Regions from separate parts of the Homo sapiens genome. Here region 1 is linked to region 2. The links are contacts of gene promoters, found by promoter capture Hi-C in blood cells and fetal thymus (Javierre and others, 2016). All regions are on one chromosome and are shown on one strand. Each heading gives the region's core, a stretch centred on a gene start or on the middle of the fragment in contact. The rest is flanking DNA. Distances are from core to core; before and after follow the strand shown. Region 1 overlaps SLC22A8 (solute carrier family 22 member 8). Region 2 holds the start of SLC22A9 (solute carrier family 22 member 9).

Region 1 (5,737 bases), core at 1,072-3,571, 370 kb after region 2:
TCTCTGCCTCTGTGGATCATAACATCCCCATGTGTCTCTCTCTTGTCTTCTTATAAGAACACGAGTCATAGTGAATTAAGAACCCACTCTACCTCAGTATAATCTCCTCATATTATAACTTAGCTAATTACATCTACAACAACTCTATTTCCAAATGAGGTCGTATTCTGATCCACGAAGAGTTAAAACTTCAATGTATTTTTTGGAGGGACACAAGTCAACCCATAACAGTTGCAGATCTCAGATCTGAGTTTCAGTCTCTGTCTTGAAATGAACCAAGCCATGCTTGGGCAAGCCACTTACCCTGTGAGATCAGATTCTTTGTCTATAAAAAGAAATAACACGAGTACCTACTTTATAAGGTTATTATGGCATTATTTGCAAAGCTTTCTCCTGATCTTCAGGGAAGATTTGTGTTGGTCTTCAGGGAAAACAGATTTGTGTTGATCTTTAGGGAAGCCATGGCCATATTTTTCTCATCAGTTCTGATGTGCTTCATTAACCATGAAATCTCTGGGAGCAATTTAGAGTGCAATTGAAGTTCAATTTTTTAAAAATATTTAACCACAAATCACTCTTCCTTCCAAGCTTCTAAATGTCATTGAAGGATGATAATCCTCCAGTAGACAATTTTTCCATAGTAGGTTTCCCAGTCTGACTGTGAAGAAAAAACACTTCTCTCCTGCTCACTGGCGTGTGGTTATATCCTCAGCACATACAGCCTAGACACTATCCATATTGACATGCACTCATTCTGGTGAAATGAGGCACATAGCATTTGGAGTGTGGGCCCTATGACCTCTCATGTAGACACTGGCAGATCTCTAACTTCTAAGGCTCTCAATCCCTCTGTTCTTTCTGTGGAATGTTCACACATTCAATTCCACAAGTATTGAGTGCCTAGTATGTATCGGATACTGTTCTTGATAATGAAAGTACAGTAGTAAACAAAACAGACTAAAAGCCTTATCTTCATCAGGCTGATATTCTTGGGAGAGAAACATGCAATAAACCAAAAAGATGGAAAATCATTCAGCATTCTGATGGTATAAGCACTACTGAGAAAATTAAGTAGGGTAGAGAGGTATAGGCTGCTGGGAGTTATAATTGTAAATAGGGAGGTCTCACTGAGAAGATAACATTTGAGCAAAGATCTGAAGGAGGTGCAAGTCAAGTAGCTATCTGGGAGAACATTCTAGAAAAAGAGAACAACATACACCAAGACTCTGAGGTAGGAGCATGCTTGAAATGTTTATGGAGCAGCAAGGCGAACAATTCAACGAGAGTGGAGTATGTGAGGGAGAGGGCAGTAGCAGGTAAGAGCAGAGAGGTGACAGGGATAAAGATGTTGGCTGATTTTCCAGGGCCTCGTAAGCCATTGTAAGGATTCAGGCATGTTCTAAACAGGTCTCAAAAGTTTATTCCAGGAATGATATTTTCTGTAAATTGCTCAATTTTCTGGTAGAAACCAGCTCATGACAGTTATTCTAAAGCCTACATGATCACAAGTATCATGGTAGAAACCAAGATCCAGCAGATCTGGTCTCAGATGGTGGAGCAGGACAGCAGCCTGAAACCTTCCAAGCAGGTCTGACAATTGACCTTCTCATGATCCAAACAGATTATTGATTTCTTAAGGCACTAATTATCATGGAGGTTGGGATAAAAATCTAATTTCCATTTGCAACTTCTTATGGGATGTATCAGGATAGGCTAGGTTATTATAACAACAATAATTCATGGCTCGAAAAATATTGAAGTGTTTCTCTTTCTCATGTAACAGTTCCAAGGTGAGTAGCATTTTAGGCCAATGGGTGGTTCTGCTTCACAGAGTCATTCAGGGACCCAGACTGACAGCAACTCTCCAGAGTTGTTCTAGTTGTCACCATTCCCACCAACAGGAGGGGAAGAAAGCATGCAAGTCCAGACTAGGGAATCCCTCTTAAGCAAATGAGGTGGAAGTAACATACATCTCTTCTACTCACATTCCATTGTCAAGAACTACATGGCCCCACTCAGTACAAGGTCATCAGGGAAATGTGCTATTTACTATGGAAGAAGGGGTGAATGAATTTAGGTGAACAGTAGGTCTCTCCTTTAGATTTTCCTAAAGGGACTTTACACAGCATGCCACAAAGTACCAGAAGTCTCTCTAGATGGCCCCTTGCACATTCCTCCACCTCACACCCCCTTGCTTCTTCCTTTACCTTTGTCCCTCCTCCATCTCCTCCCAACACACATACCATGCAGGCCCCCTTCCCAACTAAAACGGACCACCAGGCTTGCTGGCCATGCTGGGCCACTCTGAGACAGCTGTAGGACCCGGAGATTCCATCCACCACCATTCTCCCTCACTTCCAACTGAGGAAAGTGAGAAAGAGCTCCCTGGAATGTTTGGTTCTTCACCTTTTGGAATGTTTTGCTTCCAAAACATTCTTGTGAGGCATTTCTATTGAATTAAATTCTCCACTTCATCGCACAAGTAATTCAGATGGCTGGAGCAAAGGGTGCATGTTGGGGATTAGCAGATTAGACCAGACAGGTAGGCAGGGGCCAGAGCATGGAGGGCCTCATAAACCCATGTTAATGGGGCATTATCTTTACCGAAAGGGCAAGGAGAAGCCAGTGAGCACTTTAGGCAAGACAGGCACCTGATTTGAGTGGCGTTTTAGCCCTTCAGGTTATCAGGGAAAGAATGGCTAGGAAGGGATGAGGCCGAAGTCCAGTAGACCTGTCAAGAGGTTGCTGCAGCAGCCTCATCTGGGCCTCAGGTTCTTTATCTGTAAAATAGCATGATATTAGCACCTACATAATAAGGTTATTGTGAAGATTAAAGTTAAAACATGGAAAGAGCTTAGAACAGTGCCCAGTACCTAGAACACCCTCAATAAATATCAGTTGTCATTATTAATCTAAGTGCAAGATGATGAGGCCTACACTAAGGCAGTAGTATTGGAAATAGAAGAATCCAGATTCAAGAAATATCAAAAAGCTAGAATCTTGAAGATCAAGTGATTGTGGAGTAGGAGAGGGAGGAAGGAATCAAGAGGGTTATCAGCATGATCTCATTTATATATGGTATCTTTAAAAAAAAGTCCAATTCACAGAAGTAGAGAGTAGAATGATGGTTACCAAAAGCTCGGGGGGAAGGGGCTGGGGAAAGGAATGGGGAGTTACTGATCAAAGGGTACAAAGTTTCAGCTAGATGGGTGGAATACGTTTTGAGATCTGTTTCACAGCATGATGGCTACAGTCAAGAATAATGATGTATTGTTTATTTCACCATAACTAGAAGGGTGACTTTCAAAAGTATCACCACAAAAAATGTCAAGTAAATGAAGTGATGTTAATTAGCTTGATTTAATCACTTCACATTGCATACATATATCAAAACACCACATTGTTTTCATATATGTAATATAATTATGATTTGCCAATTAAAAATGATATAATTTTTTTTAAATAAAAATAAAAAAGAGGCTGGATGTGGTGACTCACATCTGTAATTCCAGTATTTTGGGAGGCCAAGACAGGCAGATCACTTGAGGCCAGGAGTTAGAGACCAGCCTGGGCAACATAGTGAGCTCCTGTCTATATACAAAATCCAAAATTAGCCAGGTGTGGTCATGCACACCTGTAGTCCCAGTTACTTAGGAGGATGGCTTTAGCCCAGGAGACTGAGGCTTCATTGAGCCATGATCATGCCACTGTAGTCAGCCTGGGTGACAGAGTGAGACCCTGTCTCAAAAAAAAATTAATTTAATTAATTAATTAATTAAAAAGAGAAGGTTACCAGTCCCTGAGATTGGGACTTTAATGAGAAGTGGGGTGATAAGTCCCATTGAATCTGGGATGTGCCTGTGACTCTATCCAGGCAGAGTTCTCAAGTGGGACCACTGAATCTACTCCTCTGTGGGTCAGAAGATAGGTTGGGCTGGAGTTGTAGATTTGGAATCTTCAGTATAAAATAGGAATTGAAGCCGCAGGAACAGATGGCATCGCCTGGGGAAAGTGGAGAGAGAGGAGGATTCAGGAAGAGCCCTGGGAAAGCTTCAAGGACTAGGCAGAGAGAAACGAGCTGTGAAGGAGACGAGGAGTGCAGAACAGCAGGAAGCCTGACGGAGGGCGAGATCAGCAGCATCCACATCTGCCAGAGGGCAAGCCAGGCCAGGATTAGGGACGTTCCATTGTGCGCCGTAAAAATGAAACTTCAGTGACCTTGATAAGCACAGATTCAGTGGATGGGTTGGGGGCAGAAGTGAGACATGAAAAGGAGATGAGGATGGAGTGACAGCAAGTACAGCTCCTCGTTCAAAGGATTTGGCTTTGAAGGGAAGAGAGAAATGGAGTGAATGAGGAAAGGAAAGAGGTTTTAAGATGGAGAGATTTGGACACACCTAAATACTGATGAGGAGGAGCAGAGAGAGAGAGAGACTGGATCTGCAGGATGAAGAGAGGTGGCAAGGATAGAGGAACGTCCCTGTAGAGGAGAGAAGGCAAGGTCAAGGGGGTACGCAGAGGGACTGGCCTGGGCTATGTGAGGGGCAGGGAGGAGGCAAACAGGGAAGCAGGCAACTTGGAGAGGAGGAAGCAGTTGAGGCCAGACCTGGATGTGGTAGCTGAGTGGACTTTGAGAGCCATATGACAGGCCACACATGCCTGAGGGATGCAGGTCAGGGGCCGAAGAGCCACAGACAAACCCAAGGAGCTCCGAGCCGGGCTGAAAAAGGAAACGGTCCTTGGGAGGTAGGGGCAAAGTCAGGGCGCTGGGAGAGGAAGCCCACATGTATGAGGCCACAGGCTGAGCATGGCTGAGCAGGCTGTCTACACTGAGTTAGGCTAGCCCTACCTTTCTCTTGTGCAGTGGGACTTGGTGTGCAACTCCAACAAACTGAAGGAGATGGCCCAGTCTATCTTCATGGCAGGTATACTGATTGGAGGGCTCGTGCTTGGAGACCTGTCTGACAGGTGAGACATGGGGGCACAGCCCATGGAAGCATGACCCATGGGGACAACCCTTCCCTACTCTGCTCCACCCGTGCACCCGCAAAGAGGCAAAGAGCTGGGGGAGGGTGGGATGGCTCTTGCTGTGTGGCCTTGGGCAAACCTCACTACCTTTCTGGACCACAGCCTTCTCTCCACCCCAAAGCCCTTACAACTGGAATCTTCCAGCCTTCCTTTTTTTTTTTTTTTTTTTTCTCTTAAGACGGAGTCTCACTCTTATTGCCCAGGCTGGAGTGCGATGGCACAATCTCAGCTCACTGCAACCTCCACCTCCCGGATTCAAGTGATTCTCCTGCCTCAGCCACCCGAGTAGCTGGGATTACAGGCGTGTGTCACCACGCCTGGCTAATTTTTGTATTTTTAGTAGAGACGAGGTTTCACCATGTTGGTCAGGCTGGTCTCAAACTCCTGACCTCAAGTGACCCTCCCATCTTGGCCTCCCAAAGTGCCGGGATTACAGGCATGAACCACCGTGTCTGGCCTCCAGCCTTCCCTTCTTCCAGGGGAAAAAACCTCCAGGTTTTGGGACACAGCGTAGTGGCTGTGTAGCAGTGGAGGCAGAGGAGATGGACTGCTTAGAGATGGGCGGTCCTTTGACCCCTGCTCAGTCAGCTAAGCTGAGGCGGATGTAGAGGAGATCACTCATTAACTCAAACCTCTAATTGCAAACTTGTCAAAAATAGCAATTACCAAGAAAGCTGTGTCTGGGGAGGGAGCTTTATGTGCCCAACAG
Region 2 (6,361 bases), core at 3,294-5,793:
GAGTAAATTATGTCTCTTACAATATTTGAGATATAATTTTAGAGAAATATTTGTTGGTTACCTTATGTTGAAATTTCATTGATTGCCCTCAGTTTTATCAGGAAACTCTATGTGTTCTGCTTCTTGTATTGCACATCAAGCACAGATTATGAGAGGACGTGCTCTCAGGTTTACACAAAGAACAAAAAGAAATTCAGGTGTCCTAGTTCCACATACATTCTCATTCCAATATCTCATTAAGACAAAAGAAGAAACAAACTCATACCTTGAGGTCAGAAAGATCACAAAGTATGGTACAGACACCACCAGCTGGAGGATATGCCAGTCTCGAATGGCAAAAGCCAGGCCTGCCAGGGTCATAAATGCAATACCAGAAGGGCACATTCCCAATGTAATTCCCATGGCCTGGAATCTGTGTGTTGCCCACTCGGCTACTGGAAGAAAAAACAGATAAGGCTTTGACTTCAAAGGTGGAGTTTCAATTTCAAAGTCACAGTTTGGAAAATGTGGATCCAAAGTGTTGGCTTACTTAACATAATAGTATTTGTTATGAGGCTCATTGCAGCAATCCCAGACAAGAAGCGTAGTGAGCAGTAAATGAGGAAGGTGGGAGCCAAGGCTGCACAGGTGCCAACAATGGCAACCTGGAGGTAACACCATCTGAGCACGAACCTTCTCCCAAACCTGAGAAACAGAAACAGGTTAGATAATGGGAACAATAACAACAAGTGGAAAAACTTAGCAAAGAGAAGGCACACTTTGAAACTTAAAAGATGTTTAACAAGTGAAACTTTGCATTTGAAGCCTTAAAGAATCAGTAATCAATGGCAGATCTCAGACACAATGTTCCCTGTTTCTAAATAAATACCAAGTAGATCAAAGCTTATTTTCCAATCTCTTAGCAGTATATTTTTGACACCAATTGAAACCACATAAGACAGGGTGGAATATTGGACATTTTAAAGTATCAGAAGTCCCTTGTACTAACACACAGCGTACTAATAACACAATGTGTCTCCCATGTACTTTAGCATAGTAGAGAGCCTGAGCAGGGCATAGCCTATAAGACATCTAAATCTAGATGTAGAAGTCTAGGACAGTGCAGGCTATGGGTATACTGATGTGAAAGGAACATCCATAGAACAATACATCAAAGTTGTTGAAGTGTTGCAGGGGAGGGCAAAAAAAAAAAGAAAAAAAAAAAGGAAAAAAAAGAAAAAGGGAATTTAGTGTTTTACTGTTTTCTGGGAAAGGAGTCCTCTCTGTAGACAACTGGAACAATATAGCCTGTGGTGAGGCAGGATTTCAGCTCTCACCAATGTCATTGGCATTGTATCAAAGGTTTTAGCTACTGCTAGAAAGAGATTAAAAGGAAAAAGTAGAACATTAGTGATTTGAACTATTCCACCTTGCAGATGATATGATCAAGTTGGGAAATTTTAAGGAATCCATAAATAGCTACTAGAACTAATAAATTTATCCTGTTGGCAGGATGTAAGTTTACTATGAAAAAGTTAATTATCTTTACATATATGTACATAATTTACATGTAAATTATCTTTACATATGAATTAGAAATAAATTAATAAAAAGTACATGACTTTTATCATAAACTATAAAATATTGCAAAGGGAAATTAAACAAAAGTCTACCTTAATTAAAAGCAATATTATATTTATAGATCAGAAAATTCAGTATTTAAAAAATGTCAGTCTTACCCAAACTGCTGTTTAGATTTAATGCAATTCCAATAGAAATCTAAAGGAAATTAGATTTCTCCCTTTTCTCACATCATAATGTAGTTCCTTGTTTTTGACTTTTACATTGGTGGAACACTATAGTATGTAATCTTTTTGTTGGTCTTGTGGTACCTAACCAAATGGTTTTGATGTTAATTCACCTTATTGCAGACAGTACTTTATTCATTCCCTTTGCTGTAAAAATTCATTATGTGAATATCTGCTTATTTATTAACCTATTATTAATGAAATTATAGATTATTTCCGATTTTAAGATATCATAAACAGTTGAGTGAGTTATTCCAAAACAATCAGTTTGATCATAGCCTACTCTGCATATAATCACATAATATTTCCTCTTAGGTTTGTGAGAAATACCAAAATCCTTAGGTTATCTTGTCCCTTCGTCTTTAGCTGATTCTCCACTGTCATCTCCTGCCTGGCATCTCCTACCCCTTCTTTTACCACCCTGTGATCTATTAAAATTGGTCTATCTGCATTTTCCCAGGACAGTATCACAGAGGACTGGGTGACTAACTATTGGAAATTAACCCTCTGACTCTTAGCTCATTCTACATTCCATTTCCTGTCGTACATTCAAGGTTCAAATTTTCAGGTGAGACACCAGAAGACATGATGTTGGTGGATGGCAAGTGGCACTTCAAGTCCCTCATCGCCATCAGGGGAGACATGGTTGGGTGAAGGTAATTGTTCCCTGCCATGTCAGGAGACATACAGCAAGGTGAATACCCCAAACTTCTCACACCACAGACTGAGATAGTATTATCCTTGGATTACTTACCTCACATGGTTCTAAAAAGCTGTTTTTGCAAAGACAATAATCAAGTTTCTACACATAATTTTTCAACACACCACCAATGATACCTTCAAATATACCCTACAGGTTTTAGAGGAATGCGTGTTCATCACACTTGGAACTATGATGTAATGACAATTCTCTGGGCACAAGCTATCAGCTCACAGTGTCCAGGTAGGACTGGACCTGGTACTCCTGGCCAAGGCTGAATCCTATGTGATGAAACGTCTTCCTTTCTATTCCCTTAGTTAACTCTTTCTCATATTTCTAAACCACATGTTGTGGTACCTTCTCTCTAAAACCTGTCTTGAAACACCCCCAGTTCACATGGAGATATCATTTCTGTGTCCTGCATACAGAGCTCAAATTTTAAAAATAGCACTCAAAACACGGACTAAAAATTTCCTTTTCTGTTTGGGGATCAGGGCAGCCTCAGGAGAATGTAATTTGCAGTAAGTAATTCTAGATGAAATAATGTTTCATAAGTTGATAAAAAATGCCCTTAAAGAGAGCTGTGTTCCATACACACTCACCTGTCTGATAAATGACCGCCTAGGATGCCTCCCACCATCATTCCAGCCATGAATACAAATTTAGCCACTGAAGTCAGTGATTGAGAGTCACATACCAGATCCCACTGGAAGAGAAGGAAGCCAGCACATCAATGCTTATTACCCCTCAGTGTAACTTGATCAAAACTTCTTAGCATGATCTGCAAGTTTCCTAATATTAAGTCTCTAACTTCCTCTGTGGCTTCCTTTCTCAGCATTACCTGACCTTTGTTATTCAGGTCTCAACTTAAACATAACTTTCTCTTGGAAGACTTTCCTAAACCTATAGGTTTTTATTTCATACTAAATGGTTCTCAAACATGACCACATGGTGCAATCACTTGAAGACCTTTAAAAACTTTTAGAAACCTAAATTTCCCTCTTAGACCTTCTCATATGATTGTTTTAGGGTATACTCTGGGCATGGAGGCTTTTCTCAATTTCCCAGATATTTCTAATTTGCAATGACAGGCTGAGCATCACTGACCTAGCAGAACATTTTAACATATTATATATAAATGCTTGTTTAAACTTTGGTCTCCCTGTGACTTAAAGCATTATAATAGCAGGATGCCTTCTACTTTGGAATTCATTACTCAAAATGTGTAGGTGTCAGACATTTAATAAAGAAGCAATTAGTATTTGCTGAAAGAATGAAGACTAAGGACCTACATGTGACTGAAGGCTGGAAGCATGATTATTACTTGTGTTATTCTAAACACCCAGGTCACATACTCATGAGACGAGAACAGAGCCTCTTACCTCAGTCACGATGGTGGATGAGAAGGAGATTCTGTCATACACCCAGCCATCCACACAGGGCTCCATGTCTGCGTCACTTGTGTTGGGGAAGGTCCCATTCAGGTGAAGGAGCTGCCACTGAGGATGAACAAAGCGACGACACTTCTCTGGCCTCATGTTTGAGTCCAGTGGGATGGAGATTCTCAAGAGTGCATCTTGGCTGAGGGCCCCAGTGTCATTGTCAGAGACAGTGTCATTGTCCAGGATGTGGACCCAGCAGCGATGGCCAGGTATGAATGCAGTGAAGTTCTCCAGCATAAAATGAAGGTATGTAGCAACAGCAAAGATTGAGAGAAAAACAGTCTGAAGGATCTGGAATCTCCACAGGTCACCAGCGTGACCCAGGAGGTCCTGAAAGGCCATTGAGGTTGAACAGTTGATCCTCAAGTAGAGGCAAAATGACTGTATCCAGAGAGGTTCAAAGAGGGAAAATGTTTTCTTTCCCTAAGTCACACTAAATGTGTTTTGATCCTGACCCCACTCTCTTCTTGACGACTGTGCTTCCCCTCTGCAGCAGGACCGTGGAAACAGTTTCCTCAAGTCGTTTTGGGGTCAGATAGGTAGCCGTTTTCTCTAAAGTCACGTAAGAAATAATTTGCTCAGATACTCCCAGTCGTTTACAATGAAATGTGTTTAAAATTCTACTTTTTCATGTCTTTAGTAGCTCCCAAAGTCAGCACTGGACTTTGGTCTACACTTTTCTGTAAACAAACTAAAATAAACCTGCTACATGGTATGCGGTCATTCCAGGAAGCATAATTTTGGCGACTCAAAGGTGAGGTGCTTTTTTTACTTCTCTGAAAACAACAGAAGGCAAGTTTTTCCTTGTTAAGTACCAATTTTTGATTAAGAGTTAATCTAAAAAAGTCGAAGTTAAACTAAAATAAGGGTACTGTGGTACAATCCTTTCATTTTGGTGACTGATGTTCTCCTTCATGTCAAATCACACCACAAATTCATGCTGGAAATACATTGCTTGAAATGTGGACAGAATAGATGGTGATGAAAAGCAGAGGAGTAAGCTCATATGGAGGTTTACTTTTACTGGCTTATTGATTTTTCAGATAGTATTTGTGAAGACCTTTTCCATGCTAGTTCCTAAAGTAACGTGTGTGACAAGTTCAAGGATCTTATAGTTGAGTAAGTAAGAGAGAGTACATAAACAATTGCACTCCAACATTATAAATATTATGTGAGATGCACTATGTGCTGTGGAAGAATTGGAGGCAAAATATGGGAGAAAATGTCACCTTGATTAGGACTAAAATTTCTATTAAAATTTAAACCTCCTTGAAGTATAATTCATTTACCATACAATTTACCCTTTTAAAGTATACAATTGAATGTGTTTTGATCATTCAAAGAGTTGTGCAATCATCACTACTATATCGTTACAGAGCATTTTAATCACCACATAGGAAACCATACCCATTAGCAGTAACTCTCCATTTTTATTCACACATCCCACTTAGCAACCGCTAATTTACTTTCTGATTCTAAGGATTTGCCTATTGTGGACATTTGATTTATACATTGAATCATAAAATACTTGACTTTGTATATCTGGCTTAATTCATTTAACATAATGTTTCTTTTTCTTTTTTTTAAATTATACTTCAAGTTTTAGGGTACATGTACACAACGTGCAGGTTTGTTACATATGTATACATGTGCCATATTGGTGTGCTGCACCCATTAACTCATCATTTAGCATTAGGTATATCTCCTAATGCTATCCCTCCCCCCTACCCCCACCTAACAACAGTCCCTGGTGTGTGATGTTCCCCTTCCTGTGTCCATGTGTTCTCATTGTTCAATTCCCACCTATGAGTGAGAACATGTGGTGTTTGGTTTTTTGTCCTTGCGATAGGTTGCTGAGAATGATGGTTTCCAGCTTCATCCATGTCCCTACAAAGGATGTGAACTCATCATTTTTTATGGCTGCATAGTATTCCATGGTATATATGTGCCACATTTTCTTTTTTTTAAAATTATACTTTAAGTTTTAGGGTACATGTGCACAACGTGCAGATTAGTTACATATGTATACATGTGCCATGTTGGTGTGCTGCACCCATTAATTCGTCATTTAACATTAGGTATATCTCCTAATGCTATCCCTCCCCTGTCTCCCCACCCCACAACTGGCCCCGGTGTGTGATGTTCCCCTTCCTGTGTCCATGTGTTCTCATTGTTCAATTCCAACCTATGAGTGAGAACATGCGGTGTTTGGTTTTTTGTCCTTGCAATAGTTTGCTGAGAATAATGGTTTCCAGCTTCATCCATGTCCCTACAAATGACACGAACTCATCCTTTTTTATGGCTGCATAGTATTCCATGGTGTATATGTGCCACATTTTCTTAATCCAGTCTATCATTGTTGGACATTTGGGTTGGTTCCAAGTCTTTGCTATTGTAAATAGTGCTGCAATAAGCATACATGTGCATGTGTT

The links. The method cuts DNA at HindIII sites, captures the fragments that hold promoters and counts their contacts. A CHiCAGO score of 5 or more calls a contact.
Region 1: a contact is called between a fragment that was not itself captured here and the fragment with the promoter of SLC22A9 in region 2, in 1 of 17 cell types (M1 macrophages). The highest score is 6.3, in M1 macrophages.

Annotation. Positions count from the first base shown.
Region 1 is chr11:62,999,951-63,005,687 of GRCh38, reverse strand. SLC22A8 (solute carrier family 22 member 8) reads left to right here. Exons shown (of 11, transcript NM_004254.4): 3 at 4,865-4,968. Among named protein-coding and RNA genes, the nearest start is that of SLC22A8, 13 kb to the left of the region's middle. The HindIII fragment of the contact is 3,462 bases long and covers 591-4,052 here.
Region 2 is chr11:63,367,967-63,374,327 of GRCh38, reverse strand. It overlaps SLC22A9 (solute carrier family 22 member 9), which reads right to left and starts at 4,543. Exons shown (of 10, transcript NM_080866.3): 1 at 3,870-4,543; 2 at 3,090-3,193; 3 at 530-684; 4 at 266-434. The coding sequence starts at 4,271. The HindIII fragment of the contact is 7,377 bases long and covers 885-6,361 here.